Linked DNA regions of Homo sapiens: region 2 is linked to region 1. Evidence: promoter capture Hi-C in 16 types of primary human blood cells and fetal thymus (Javierre and others, 2016). All regions are on one chromosome and are shown on one strand. The core of a region is centred on a gene start or on the middle of the fragment in contact, and the rest is flanking DNA. Distances in the headings are between cores, read along the strand shown.

The links. Contacts are between HindIII fragments. The CHiCAGO score rates a contact against its expected background, and 5 or more counts as called.
Region 2: a contact is called between a fragment that was not itself captured here and the fragment with the promoter of ANKRD42 in region 1, in 2 of 17 cell types (fetal thymus and naive CD4 T cells). The highest score is 5.1, in fetal thymus.

The regions. Positions count from the first base shown.
Region 1 is chr11:83,191,311-83,197,747 of GRCh38, reverse strand. It overlaps ANKRD42 (ankyrin repeat domain 42), which reads right to left and starts at 4,036. Exons shown (of 11, transcript NM_001300975.2): 1 at 3,020-4,036. The coding sequence starts at 3,077. ANKRD42-DT (ANKRD42 divergent transcript) reads left to right here and starts at 4,079. Exons shown (of 3, transcript NR_149009.1): 1 at 4,079-4,281. RefSeq lists enhancers at 3,060-3,419, 3,940-4,049, 4,110-4,329 and a silencer at 3,627-3,805. The HindIII fragment of the contact is 14,061 bases long and covers 1-6,437 here.
Region 2 is chr11:83,261,101-83,267,069 of GRCh38, reverse strand. It overlaps CCDC90B (coiled-coil domain containing 90B), which reads left to right. Exons shown (of 9, transcript NM_021825.5): 8 at 1,091-1,205; 9 at 5,104-5,969. The coding sequence ends at 5,159. It also overlaps a transcript of ANKRD42 not described here. Among named protein-coding and RNA genes, the nearest start is that of CCDC90B-AS1, 22 kb to the left of the region's middle. The HindIII fragment of the contact is 4,657 bases long and covers 1,495-5,969 here.

The DNA.
Region 1 (6,437 bases), core at 2,787-5,286:
ATTTTATAATTTAATTAATAAGCATTGTGAACCAGAGGCAATAAAGGTATCTAAGCACGAACAGATAACTATTAGAGAAGAATGAAGGAGTAAGCAGTTCAACTTCAGCATTCTCTAAATAAAACAGGCATGATTCCTGACCTGAAGTTGTTTTGAAAACAGCTCACCAACACATCTGGCAAATGATCTGTGCAACCTTGTACTACTATTTATCTATGTACATGTCCTCTCTCCACAATCAGAATGTTAATTTCTTAAGGGCAAAAATAATATTTTACACTGGAATTATATCTTACTTTTATTACATCTTTTTATATACTCTAATTATATCTTTGCTCTTAGCAAACTGCTATAACTGTACTCAAAAAGCCTTTCTGAACATCTACCATGAGTCAGGCACTATGATAACATGATAGAAAATGGACATGGATTTAATACATTTTTTTTCCGCCAACACATTAAAATCTATTTGGATAAATACATAATGAAAACAAAAACCTGACAGCAATGTCCTCAGAGAGTACAGGTAAAATTAAGGAGAAACAAAACAAGTCACAGAGGAGGAGGAAACATTCAAGCAAGACCTTGAAGAACAATTAAGATATATGGCAAATGGGAACGAGAGCATCTGTAAGGTGTGCACATGTACACATACACACACACACACCTTTAATAAACGTTCAGTGATGTTAATCCCTAGGCCGGACCTTCATTCTTCTTTAAACTAGCACAGCCAGACCTACAAATGATGTTCTATCCACTCTACTTATTTTACACAGAGACACTCCTCTAATCCATCTTACACAGACCAACTATCCTAATCACTTCATGCCCCTACTCTAAACTGCCACTGGTTGGTCACTGCTACTCTACAAAACAAAACCCAAACTCTCAGTATGACCTCTATGGCCTCCCATAATTTGGCTCCATCTAATTTTATGGTCTTTTTTCTCACTACATTCCATCCCGATTTATTCACTCATCCACTCATCCATCTACTCAACGTAAGTCTGGTGTCTACCATAAGGATAAAAAGATGAAGACACCCTCAAGGAACTCACAGATTAGTAGAGAAGATACAAACACAAAATACAAAATAATGTGGTAAAAGCAACGATGGAAATATTCATAGGAACCTGTGGAAGCACAGATGACTTCAAACTCAGCCAGGGTAGGAGGGAAGGGGAACACAGAAGGATTCCTGGGGAAAGTTACATCTAAGATAGAATCTTCAAGGATTAACAGGAGTTTGCCAAGGCAAGTAGGAGCAGTGAGTAGGCCTAAACAGCATGAACAGTAGGACATGGTCAAGAAACCACACACACACACACACACACACACACACACACTCTCACACACTCACACACAAATCCTACTACTAAAGTATTAAGGGGATAAATAGGCTAGAACTAGACAAGAAACAGACAATGGTGAAACTTATTTTTAAAAACTTGGACTTGAGCAGACAGTGGAGAATCACTGAGGAATTTTAAACAGAAGAATTATAATGATTGAGAGCTGTAAGGCTGAGTTTACAAGGCTAAATTCAGGGAAGAGAATTTACTGAATGGGGAGCAAAAAGGCAAGACTAAAGAGTAGGTTGATTGGCCGGGCGCGGTGGCTCACGCCTGTAATCCCAGGACTTTGGGAGGCCGAGGTGGGCAGATCATGAGGTCAGGAGGAGACCATCATGGCTAACACAGTGAAACTCCGTTTCTACTAAAAATACAAAAAATTAGCCGGGTGTGGTGGTGGGCCCCTGTTGCCCTAGCTACTCGGGAGGCTGACGCAGAAGAATGGTGTGAACCTGGAAGGCGGAGATTGCAGTGAGCTGAGGACCGCGCCACTGCACTCCAGCATGGGGGACAGAGCAAGACTCCGTCTCCAAAAAAAAAAAAAAAAGAGAGAGAGAGAGAGTAGGTAGATCATGTAAGAATACAGTTTACAATAGTCTAGACCAGAAAAAATGAGACTCTGAACACTGGGAAAAGAAAAGGAGAAAGATTCAACAAATATTAATAAAATTAGAATGAACTAAACTGGAATGGATACAGTGGGTGAAACAAGGGAAAAGTAATAAGATAACTCCAAGGTGTGTGGCTTTATCATCTGAGTGCTGTGGTGCCATTAGTTGAGACAGCAAACACTGAAGGACAGAGAGGATATATAGATATAAAATTACATTTTGGACATGCTGCTCTTGAGGTACCCAAGGAAAATTTCCAGAAGGGAGATATCTATATATATGTTTGCAGCTCCGAGGAGAGATACGGAATTCAGGTCTCAGTGTTACGTGTGTCTCTGTATTAGAATGCTTTTTCTGACACCCATACTCACCCCCTACTGGAATCAGTGGCATTCTACCGTCCTTTATAACACTGATCTCACTTGTCATTATTTGCTCAGCATTTATCTTCCTCACTAGAAGGTAAAGAATGTGCCTGTCTTCTTAAGTTCCTTAAGACGGAGCACAAAGTAGGCATATGCAGTAAATATTTACTGGATGGTTGAATGAGTAACCGATTTGAGGGCCACCAGTAGGACTGAAGTCACAGTAAATGACAAGAAAAAGAGAACCAATGATGGCATCATCAAGGGGTAAAAGCTGCATTTAAGAAGATGGCAGAAGAAAAGAAAACGGTAAGGGAAAGGGTCACTCAATGGAGTGAAAGAAGAAAACTAAGTAAGTACTAATTTGTCACCTCCACAGGGTCAAATGCTGCAGGGAAGTCAAGGAAGAACTTAAAAGGGTCCGTCCATTAAGACTGAACAAGAGTTGATGTCAAGCTGGGCAAGAAGACTCGGAGGAATAGTGTGGATGGAAAAAAGGAAAGAAAGCGGAAATAATACAGAACAGGGGAGAGCTGAACAGCTTTGGTATCCCCTGAAAATAAATTAAAAAGGGAAAGGGGGGAGTGACGGCTGAGAAAAGGAAATGCCAGAAAGGGCTAAGGCTGTTGCGGGCTTAAGTGAGAAAAGGAATACGACAGAGATGAAGGCCAATGACAGTCTGACTCACAGGGGTTTGCAGTCTCCCTAGAGGAAGTGGAGGGGCCTGAATTGGCCACCCCGGGCATGGCGCAACACCTCCGACTCTGGGGAGGAGTTGAGTCCAGGCCCCTGATGCTGCGGCGGTCTTCACTTGCTCTCACCCACGAGCCACTGCAGCGGCAGCGGCCCTCTTCTCCGTCGTCACTAGGACGGGGCCCAAGGTCCTCTCTTGCTCTCTCCCAGAAGCTGCAGCGGAAACCTTCGTCTTCACTTTCTCTCTCCCAAAAGCCACTGAAGCGGTAGCTGGCGTCTTCACTGCCGCTCACACCAGAGGAGTCGCTGGCTGCGTAGCCGCGGTCTCCACTTACTTCCTCCCAAGAACTACCAACGCTGTGGCCGCCTTCGACACTCCCTCCCTCCCAGGAGCCACTGAAGCGGCGACTGCGATCGTCACTGACTCTATCCCCGAAGTCACTAGTTCGCGGGTCCCGAATGTCACTGACTCCCTCCCAAGGACCACTGAGGCGGAGGCCTCGGTCTTCTCTGGCTGTTCCCCTGGAGTCGGTAGTTTGGTGGCCTCCAACTTCACTAAAATTCACGTCGCTGCTGCAGAAGGTGCTGTCTCCCCTAACTCTCTCCCAAGAGCAGCTGTGACTGTGGCCACTATCTCCCCTAACTCTCTCCCTAGAGACGCTGCGGCAGTGGCCGAGGTTTTCACTGACCCTTCTCAAGTCACTGCGGGAGAAGCCGGCGTCTGCACTTAGGCTTCCTGCAGCGACCCTGGAGCGGCGGTCGCTCTCTTCACATTTTCTTTCCCCGTCGTCGCTAACTCTTTCCCTAGACTCGGCGCCGGAATGGCCGTGTAGACCGTTTATCCTCCACACGTGGTGGCTAGTGCGGCGGCCACCGTCTTCGTCTGCTACTCCCTGCGAATCGCCGTAGCGGCGGCCGCCTTCCGCTGGTACTTTCTCGGAGTCTCTTTCCAGCCTCCCGACTCCAGCCACTTGGCTGGAGAGGCAGCAGGGCCGTCGCCTTGGAAACGAGTACACTTCCGACGTGCTGAGGTCATTTCCCGTTCCTCACGGCCCACGCTACTTCCGGTTTCCTTTCCCTCAGCTATTCCATGGCTTTTCGTGTGGACAAATCGGGAGGTGGTGTAAACTGGTTTTTGGTGAAATTCGGCTCGGCCTCATGCGAACCTATCTAGGTCCGTCTCTGGAGTGGCCTGTCATCGATCGCGCCCTCCATCGCTGAGCGACACAAGTGGAACCCCCCAGGACTGCATTCTGCGTAGGTGACCTGTGTGGCGCGGGCCGGGCGGGGCCTTTTTGTCCTTGGGCAAACGTGGTATACTTTCTCAGTGGTGGTTGGAAGGAAATTTGTTGCCCTGTCATTTCGCAAGTATGGAAAAAGACCTAAAGGAGAATTTAGCAGCTGCAGCCGCTGTTTTTATTGCGTACTTTACTAGCGCCAACTCTTTAATAATCGCTTGTTAGTTGTTACCCCTGTTTTATGGGTCAAGAGACTCAATATATCAGTACTTTGGTAAGGCCAGGCAGCAGGTAAGTTGTAAAACCAGTAAAAAAACACAGGTCATTAGTCAAAAGAGTGCTTCAGGTCTCCTGACTCCAAATCCGAGAATCCTTTCACTGTAGCATGTTTACTGCTCAAATATTTCTACAACCCTATTGCTTAACAACAGGAATGAATTATTTCACCATTTGTTGCAAACGTATGGGTCACGTTTTGTGCCAGCAGCAGAAAATACAGAAATTAGTAAGAATTACCTGCCCTCCAGGGGCATCACCAACCTGGATTCCCCTCTCGGCCCAGTTTTTCCACCCTTATTGCCTTCTCCCTTCAGGAATAATGAACTCGTCCTGGAAGCGTACCTTACTTTTTAATATCTCTGCCTTGTCATGTGCTGTTCGTCTTACCAGGAAACTACCCTGCTTTTCCCCCAGTTTTGGTCTGTGAACACATTTGGGAAATTCTTCTGATCCTACCGCTACTCTCTTGAGGTACAGTAAATTGTCTTTGACTTCCATCACCTTTTGTAATATTACAATTGCCATCTACTGAGTTCCTATGATCTGCCTGGCATTGTACTAAGTGCTTTATATTTTCTTGTTCATTTTTTTATGCCAACATAAATGAGTTTGACTCAATTCTTATTATAACCTGCCAAAATAAGTATTCCTCTTCCTTTTTACAGAGAGAGAAACAAGGGAAAAAAAAGTTAATTGCCTGAGGATATACTGCTAGTGTTGCGGGACAAATAGAGACGGGAGAGGCCAAACAGAATTCAGGACAACCCTTTATTATTAAGGTGATCACTGGCTCAGTCGGACTGGGGTCCAGAAAGTCTGAGCCCGGAACAAAGGGATCAATCACCTTTTAAGCAATTTGTGGCGGGAGTTTGGTGCTACAGGAAGCCTACTTGCAGAAGCAAGAACAAAGGCAGTTAATTATTCTTTTACATTTGTTACACCACATGTCTTACATCCTTGGGAATGCATGCTTTTGTAGCAATTGCTTATCAACCTTGTGACTTTACAGCGCGCTAGGGAGGGAAGCAGGAACTCGTGGTGCCTCAAGGAACGTGAAACGGTGGAACACAGATAAGCCTCTCCGTGCGTAGAGGAGAAATAAGCGGTTAATATTCTCTCTTAACCCAGGCCTCCGGAGGGTGGGGGGCTATATTTCATTCTACCTCTAAGGAAAAGAATAAACTTCTTGACTAATATACTTATAAAATTCATTAATTCCCCCTTCACTAGTAAATAATAAATACCTGACTTAGGATTCCAAAATAGGTCTTGAATTTTTCTGCAGGAGCTCCTCAAAGTCTCTGAATTCCCACAACCTTTTATTAGATCACTTATCCCATTGTATTATAATTATCTGTTTAACAATTTTTCCTCACCCCTAAAGGACCCTGAGCTTCTGGAAGGTAGGGACTGTATCTTAAAATCTTGGCATTTCTGATGTCTAGAATATTTCATTTAAGAGAAGGGCTTAGTAACTGTTGTGTGGGTGGGTTGATGAGTTAACTGTCAGGCAGGTGAACTAATAGGCTGAAGATAAAGTTTTTCACTGTTGGAAGTGAATTTGGGATTAGTCATCCTAATCCCCTCACTTTTAGAGATGGGGCAACTGAGTCATGCGCGGTGGCTCACGCCTGTAATTCTAGCACTTTGGGAGGCCAAGGTGAGCGGATCACCTGAAGTCAGGGATTTGAGACCAGCCTGGCCAACATGGCGAAACCCCATCTCTACTAAAAATACAAAAATTAGCCAGGCATGGTAGCAGGAGCCTGTAATCCCAGCTGTTCGGGAGGCTGAGGCAGGAGAATCACTTGAACCTGGGAGGCGGAGGTTGCAGTGAGTTGAGATCGCGCAATTGCGCTCCAGCCTGGGCGACAAGAGCAAAACTCCACCTCAAAG
Region 2 (5,969 bases), core at 2,574-5,073, 70 kb before region 1:
GATGTTGATGCTATTCCTTTCTGTTTGTTAGTTTTCCTTCTAACAGTCAGGACCCTCAGCTGCAGGTCTGTTGGAGTTTGCTGGAGGTCCACTCCAGACCCTGTTTACCTGGGTATCACCAGCAGAGGCTGCAGAACAGCAAATATTGCTGCCTGATCCTTCCTCTGGAAGCTTTGTCCCAGAGGTGCAGCCGCCTATATGAGGTGTGTGTCAGCCCCTACTGGAAGATGTCTCCCAGTTAGGCTACACAGGGGTCAGGGACCCAATTGAAGAAGCAGTCTCTCCGTTCTCAGAGCTCAAACGCTGTCGTGAGAGAACCACTGCTGTCTTCACAGCTGTCAGACAGGGACATTTAAGTCTGCAGAAGTTGTCTGCTGCCTTTTGTTCAGCTATGCCCTGCCCACAGAGGTGGAGTCTAGAGACAGTAGGCATTGTTGTGCTGTGGTGGGCTCAGCCCAGTTCAAGCTCCCCTGCCACTTTGTTTACCTACTCAAGCCTCAGCAATGGCGGATGCCCCTTCCCCAGCCAGTCTGCTGCCTCACAGTTCGATTTCAGACTGCTGTGCTAGCAGTGAGCAAGGCTCCGTGGGCGTGGGACCCGCTGAGCCAGGCACAGGAGAGAATCTCCTTGTCTGCCAGTTGCTAAGACCTTGGGAAAAGTGCAGTATTTGGGCAGGAGTGTCCCATTTTTCCAGGTAGTCTGTCATGGCTTCCCTTGGCTAGGAAAGGGAAATCCGCTGACCCCTTGCGCTTCCAGGGTGAGGCAATGCCCCACCCTGCTTCAGCTCACCCTCCGTGCGCTGCACCCACTGTCCAACCAGTCCCAATGAGATGAACCAGGTACCTCAGTTGGAAATGCAGAAATCACCCGTCTTCTGCGTTGATCACGCTGGGAGCTGCAGAGTGGAGCTGTTCCCTTTTGGCCATCTTGGAACACTTCAAATTTTTTTACACCACTATGCTTTTAATGTTTCCCCAACTAAGACTTTTATATCACAATTAGCCCATAAGTGAGGGTTTATAATGTAAATGCTTTTGTCCATTTAATACATAGGGACAAAATTAAGTTCTCTTATTCTGGTTTACCACAGGATACTCAAACCAAAAGTATTATTTCAGAGACCAGTAATAAAATTGACGCTGAAATTGCTTCCTTAAAAACACTGATGGAATCTAACAAACTTGAGACAATTCGTTATCTTGCAGGTAAGACTGTCAGAGAAAGAAATTGCTGTCATCTAATTTTCCTGTTAGTTCTACCTATCAAGGTAACTGAGCAGGCACAGGAAAAAAAGGAGGAGCTAGATAACAAGGCTCCTTTATTGCTTGGTCCCCTGTAGTGCTTAAAGAAGGTTCCAGTCTCAGGATATATTTTTTGGAGTCTTGGGTTTTATTTTTAATACTTATAATTTTTATTATAGCAGATTACAAATTAGACGCAGCCAAAGGAAGGAACATATAGGGTGTAGTATTGGACAGTTCTAAATGTTAAGCTTCTGTCATCCTCACAGATGTGTTACCCTTCAGAATCTAAGTTTAGCAGGCAACTCTGCAGCTGACTAATAGAAAAAGCATGTGGATATAAAAGAAATATATAAACACAAGCAGAAAATGATAGAAGGATAAACTGTGGTACTCCACAGTGGAAAAAAAAATGAAAATTTTCTTTTTATTGCTTATGTTCTTCCATAAAGATTTGAAAGAGGTTAGAGAAAAAAGATCAATAAATTAGATATAAGCCCATTAAAAACCTGGAGGAGGGACAGATGACCTTACCTTGAATCAACTGATTCAGCATAGACACTATCCCAAAATTAGATTATTTGTCACATACTGAGCTCCTCAAGTACCATCTGACCTGACCCAATTACAGGGCCCCAGTGATTTAGGAAGAATGCCCTAGTCAACTATTACTTGTCTTTTTTCTTTCCTTTTATAAAAAGTAATGTATTTTCATTATAAATTTTTTTTATAAGTTTTAGGGTCATGTGCACAATGTGCAGGTTAGTTACATATGTATACATGTGCCATGCTGGTGCGCTGCACCCAGTAACTCGTCATTTAGCATTAGGTATATCTCCCAATGCTATCCCTCCCCCCTCCCCCCACCCCACAACAGTCCCCAGAGCGTGATGTTCCCCTTCCTGTGTCCATGTGTTCTCATTGTTCAGTTCCCACCTATGAGTGAGAATATGCAGTGTTTGGTTTTTTGTTCTTGTGATAGTTTACTGAGAATGATGATTTCCAATTTCATCCATGTCCCTACAAAGGACATGAACTCATCATTTTTTATGGCTGCATAGTATTCCATGGTGTATATGTGCCACATTTTCTTAATCCAGTCTATCATTGTTGGCCATTTGGGTTGGTTCCAACAAAGATACTCCTCGAGAAGAGCAACTCCATAATTGTCAGATTCACCAAAGTTGAAATGAAGGAAAAAATGTTAAGGGCAGCCAGAGAAAAAGGTCGGGTTACCCTCAAAGGGAAGCCCGTCAGACTAACAGCAGATCTCTCAGCAGAAACTCTACAAAGCCAGAAGAGAGTGGGGGCCAATATTCAACATTCTTAAAGAAAAGAATTTTCAACCCAGAATTTCATTATAAATTATTCATAGAATTCAAAAGCCGAAAAAGTGAAAGCCCCTCCCCGTGTGTATTTACTATTAGTAGTAAACATTTTCTAGGCTTTTTCTTCTGTATATAAACATCTTATATACTTCTTAAAAATAATTAGATCACGTATTTTTTATAGTCTACAACTTTTTAAAGTTTAACCAAATGTCCTATTTCTTTCCACACAGACATCTTTTTATTAGAAAGCACAGTATTCCCTATATGAAAATGCCACAATTTATGTATCCAGTCCTTTATTAACAGGCATTCTCCCTTCAGTTTTTTATTATTAAGGACAATACTGTATTGAACAGCCATATATATGTGTTAACGTTTGAGTAAATACACATACACACACACATATCTTGGTGGCCCTGTGCTAGTATTTCTATATAACAACTTGCTATGTACATTTAAAATTTGGGGTCAAAAAGATATGCACATTTAAGATTTTTGATATTAACAAATTGCTGTCTAAAAGAAAACTGCCGATTTATACTCTTAGTCATTTTCTGGGCAGTCACTACTGATGTTGAGGTGCCAGCAGGGTTGAAGATGGAGCCCCCAGCCATCAGCTGAACCGTGGATGGGGCACAAGTAAAATAGCCTACCTACAAGCATAATTGGAATCAGAACTTACTCTTTAAATCTGTGACTGTGTGCCTCAATTTCTCATACCAGCTTTCTCCATAGGTTGGAAACATTACCACCTAGACTCTTATCATTCCACTTTCACTAATCAGGAGAGATTGCCCTCTTTCCTTAGTTCCAATTTTTAAAATCCTCAGAAAGGAGTCTGAATGGTTCATCGTGGGTCAGACGCCACCTTTTGACCCAGAACACTGCCACCAAGGAATAATGGCAATTTCCATTTAATCTATGTAGATAATGTGGCAGATTTTGTTCGTGGCAGATAAATAATGAAAGCTAATGTTTACAGAGTGCTTAAAATGTACCAGGCATATGCTCACCTAAGCATTTTACATATATGTAGAATGTCTCCCTAGACAGGGTATAGAGGATAAACAGCAAACTTAAAAGAAATTGGAGATGGCTCCAATTGTTGTTGTTACTGCAACAACAGCCATGAGAAATAAAAGCTGAAATAACAGCAGCAAGACATGAGAGAGAAACTTAAATGCAGTAACGATTGTATACTCTACTGAAGTAGAGTATACTTCACCTCACAATAAGTGTTCATTTGGTTATCTAAAACTTAATTTATCAGCTGTTGAATCAGCAGAGGATGTAACCACTTAGATAGCACTATGTGACTCAAATAAATGACAGATTGAGTCTTTCAAGTGTCACAGTATATAATAAGGATCACAAATTTTGTGTGTGTGTTTTTTTATTAAGAGAAAAAAAATGGCTTTGGAGTCAAGTACACTTAGTCTTAAATCCCGGCTCCACTGTTTGCTAGCGATGTAACTGGGTGTATTACCTCATCTGTACAATGGGGATAATACCACCAATCTCATGGTTAAATAAAGTAGTGTGTGTAATTGCTCAGCATAGTAGCATAGTACTTGACACACAGCAAATAGTAGCAGGATCAAATGGGAGAATATATAATTGCCCAGTGGCTGTAAGACAAGAAACTCTTAGTGTTATTACTTCTCTATATTTCTTAGAGATGCCTAATCCCATTTCTTAAAACTGAGAAAATGATCTTATCATTAACCAAGTTTCAGTAAGTAGTAGGATCAAATGGGGTGGTGTACAAATGGGTTTATACATTATGAATAACTTTACTTTGAAAGGCTAATTTCTTGTGTCTTTATTCATAAAAGTTTTCCATTCATCTCTCACTTGTCTGTTTTTAAAAATTCATTCATCGGTGTTTTAAACAAACTGGAGACTAGGGAGTCCCTAAAGGCCTCACTCAGACTTACCTTCTAAAAGCTGGGAAAACTGAATTTTTTTTTATCCAAAATGATGTAAGCTAAAGTACAGGTAGTATATTAACTATTTTAAAAACCTAATGCTTTTTCTGCCTTTTCTTCTACCTCATTGAGTTTAAAGAGTTTTTATTAAAATTTTATTAAGAATTATGAGAAATTATTTAAAAATGTACTGAAAAGGCAATTAAAATTCTCTTCTCACAGATATATGTATATTTTACTAGCCTAACTACGTAATTTTTTAATATAAGAAAGATTTCATTTATCATGAGATCTGAAATTAGAGCTTATAATTATTTAAAGTAGTCAATAATGCTAGCGTTAATGATTTTAAATACAGGTTATAGGTTTCTAAATGACATAATTTACATTTTAATATACAGGTGCTTTTAAGAAGAATTAGGCATTAAGGCTGCCCTTAAGAATGTCTTTCATACTTAATTGTCTAGGGAATAAAAAACATAGGATAGAAAATTGGTTGGATTTCCTGTTTTTTGCTCTTCACTTAAAGATAACATTATTCTCTTTATCTCTGCAAAATAATTACAGATACAAGACCTATAACACAGTTTCTTCTTTTCACAGCTTCGGTGTTTACTTGCCTGGCAATAGCATTGGGATTTTATAGATTCTGGAAGTAGTATTAATGCTCATCCTGCTGTGGCTGTTGGCTTCTTAGAACACCAAACCGGGAGAGATTTACTTTGAACATTGTCAGTTGCAGCAAAAATTTACTACACAAGATTATTCGAAGTGTATACGGACTAAAAGAGGAAGTGTTTTAGAATGAGAAGAGATACTGTGTCTTTATTGTGTGTGTGTGAGTGCAGGTGTGTGTCTTTATTATATTGAAAAGCTGTCACTCAGACCTGGTTTGAGATAGAAGAGCATTTTGTCCTTTTGATAGTTAATAGAAATTGAACCAGAGTTTTCTTATGTTTGCTTGAACAGTTGTGTAAATCATACAGGATTTTGTGGGTATTGGTTGAATATTTGTAAACCATTCCCTAGCCTACATATTTATTACTGAATTAACTTTCCTGATAACCATTGCATAATTACATTTTTCTATAAAATGAAAGATTATTACAACAAAGTTGTGTGGGTTTTCAAAGTGACTTACCATATAGTTGGAGATTGATTTCTTTTTGGTAATGAACTAAAACAATAAATTTTAAAATGATAGGCCAGGCGCGGTGGCTCACACCTGTAATCTCAGCACTTTGGGAGGCTGAGGCGGGTGGATCACTTGAGGTCAGGAGTTCTAGACCAGCCTGGCCAACATGGTGAAACCCCGTCTCTGCTAAAAATACAAAAATTAGCCAGGCATGGTGGCACATGCCTGTAATTCCAGCTACTCGGGAGGCTGAGGCAGGAGAATCTTGCAGTGAGCCGAGATAGCACCACTGCACTCCAGCCTGGGTGACAGAGCAAGACTCCATTACCTAAAT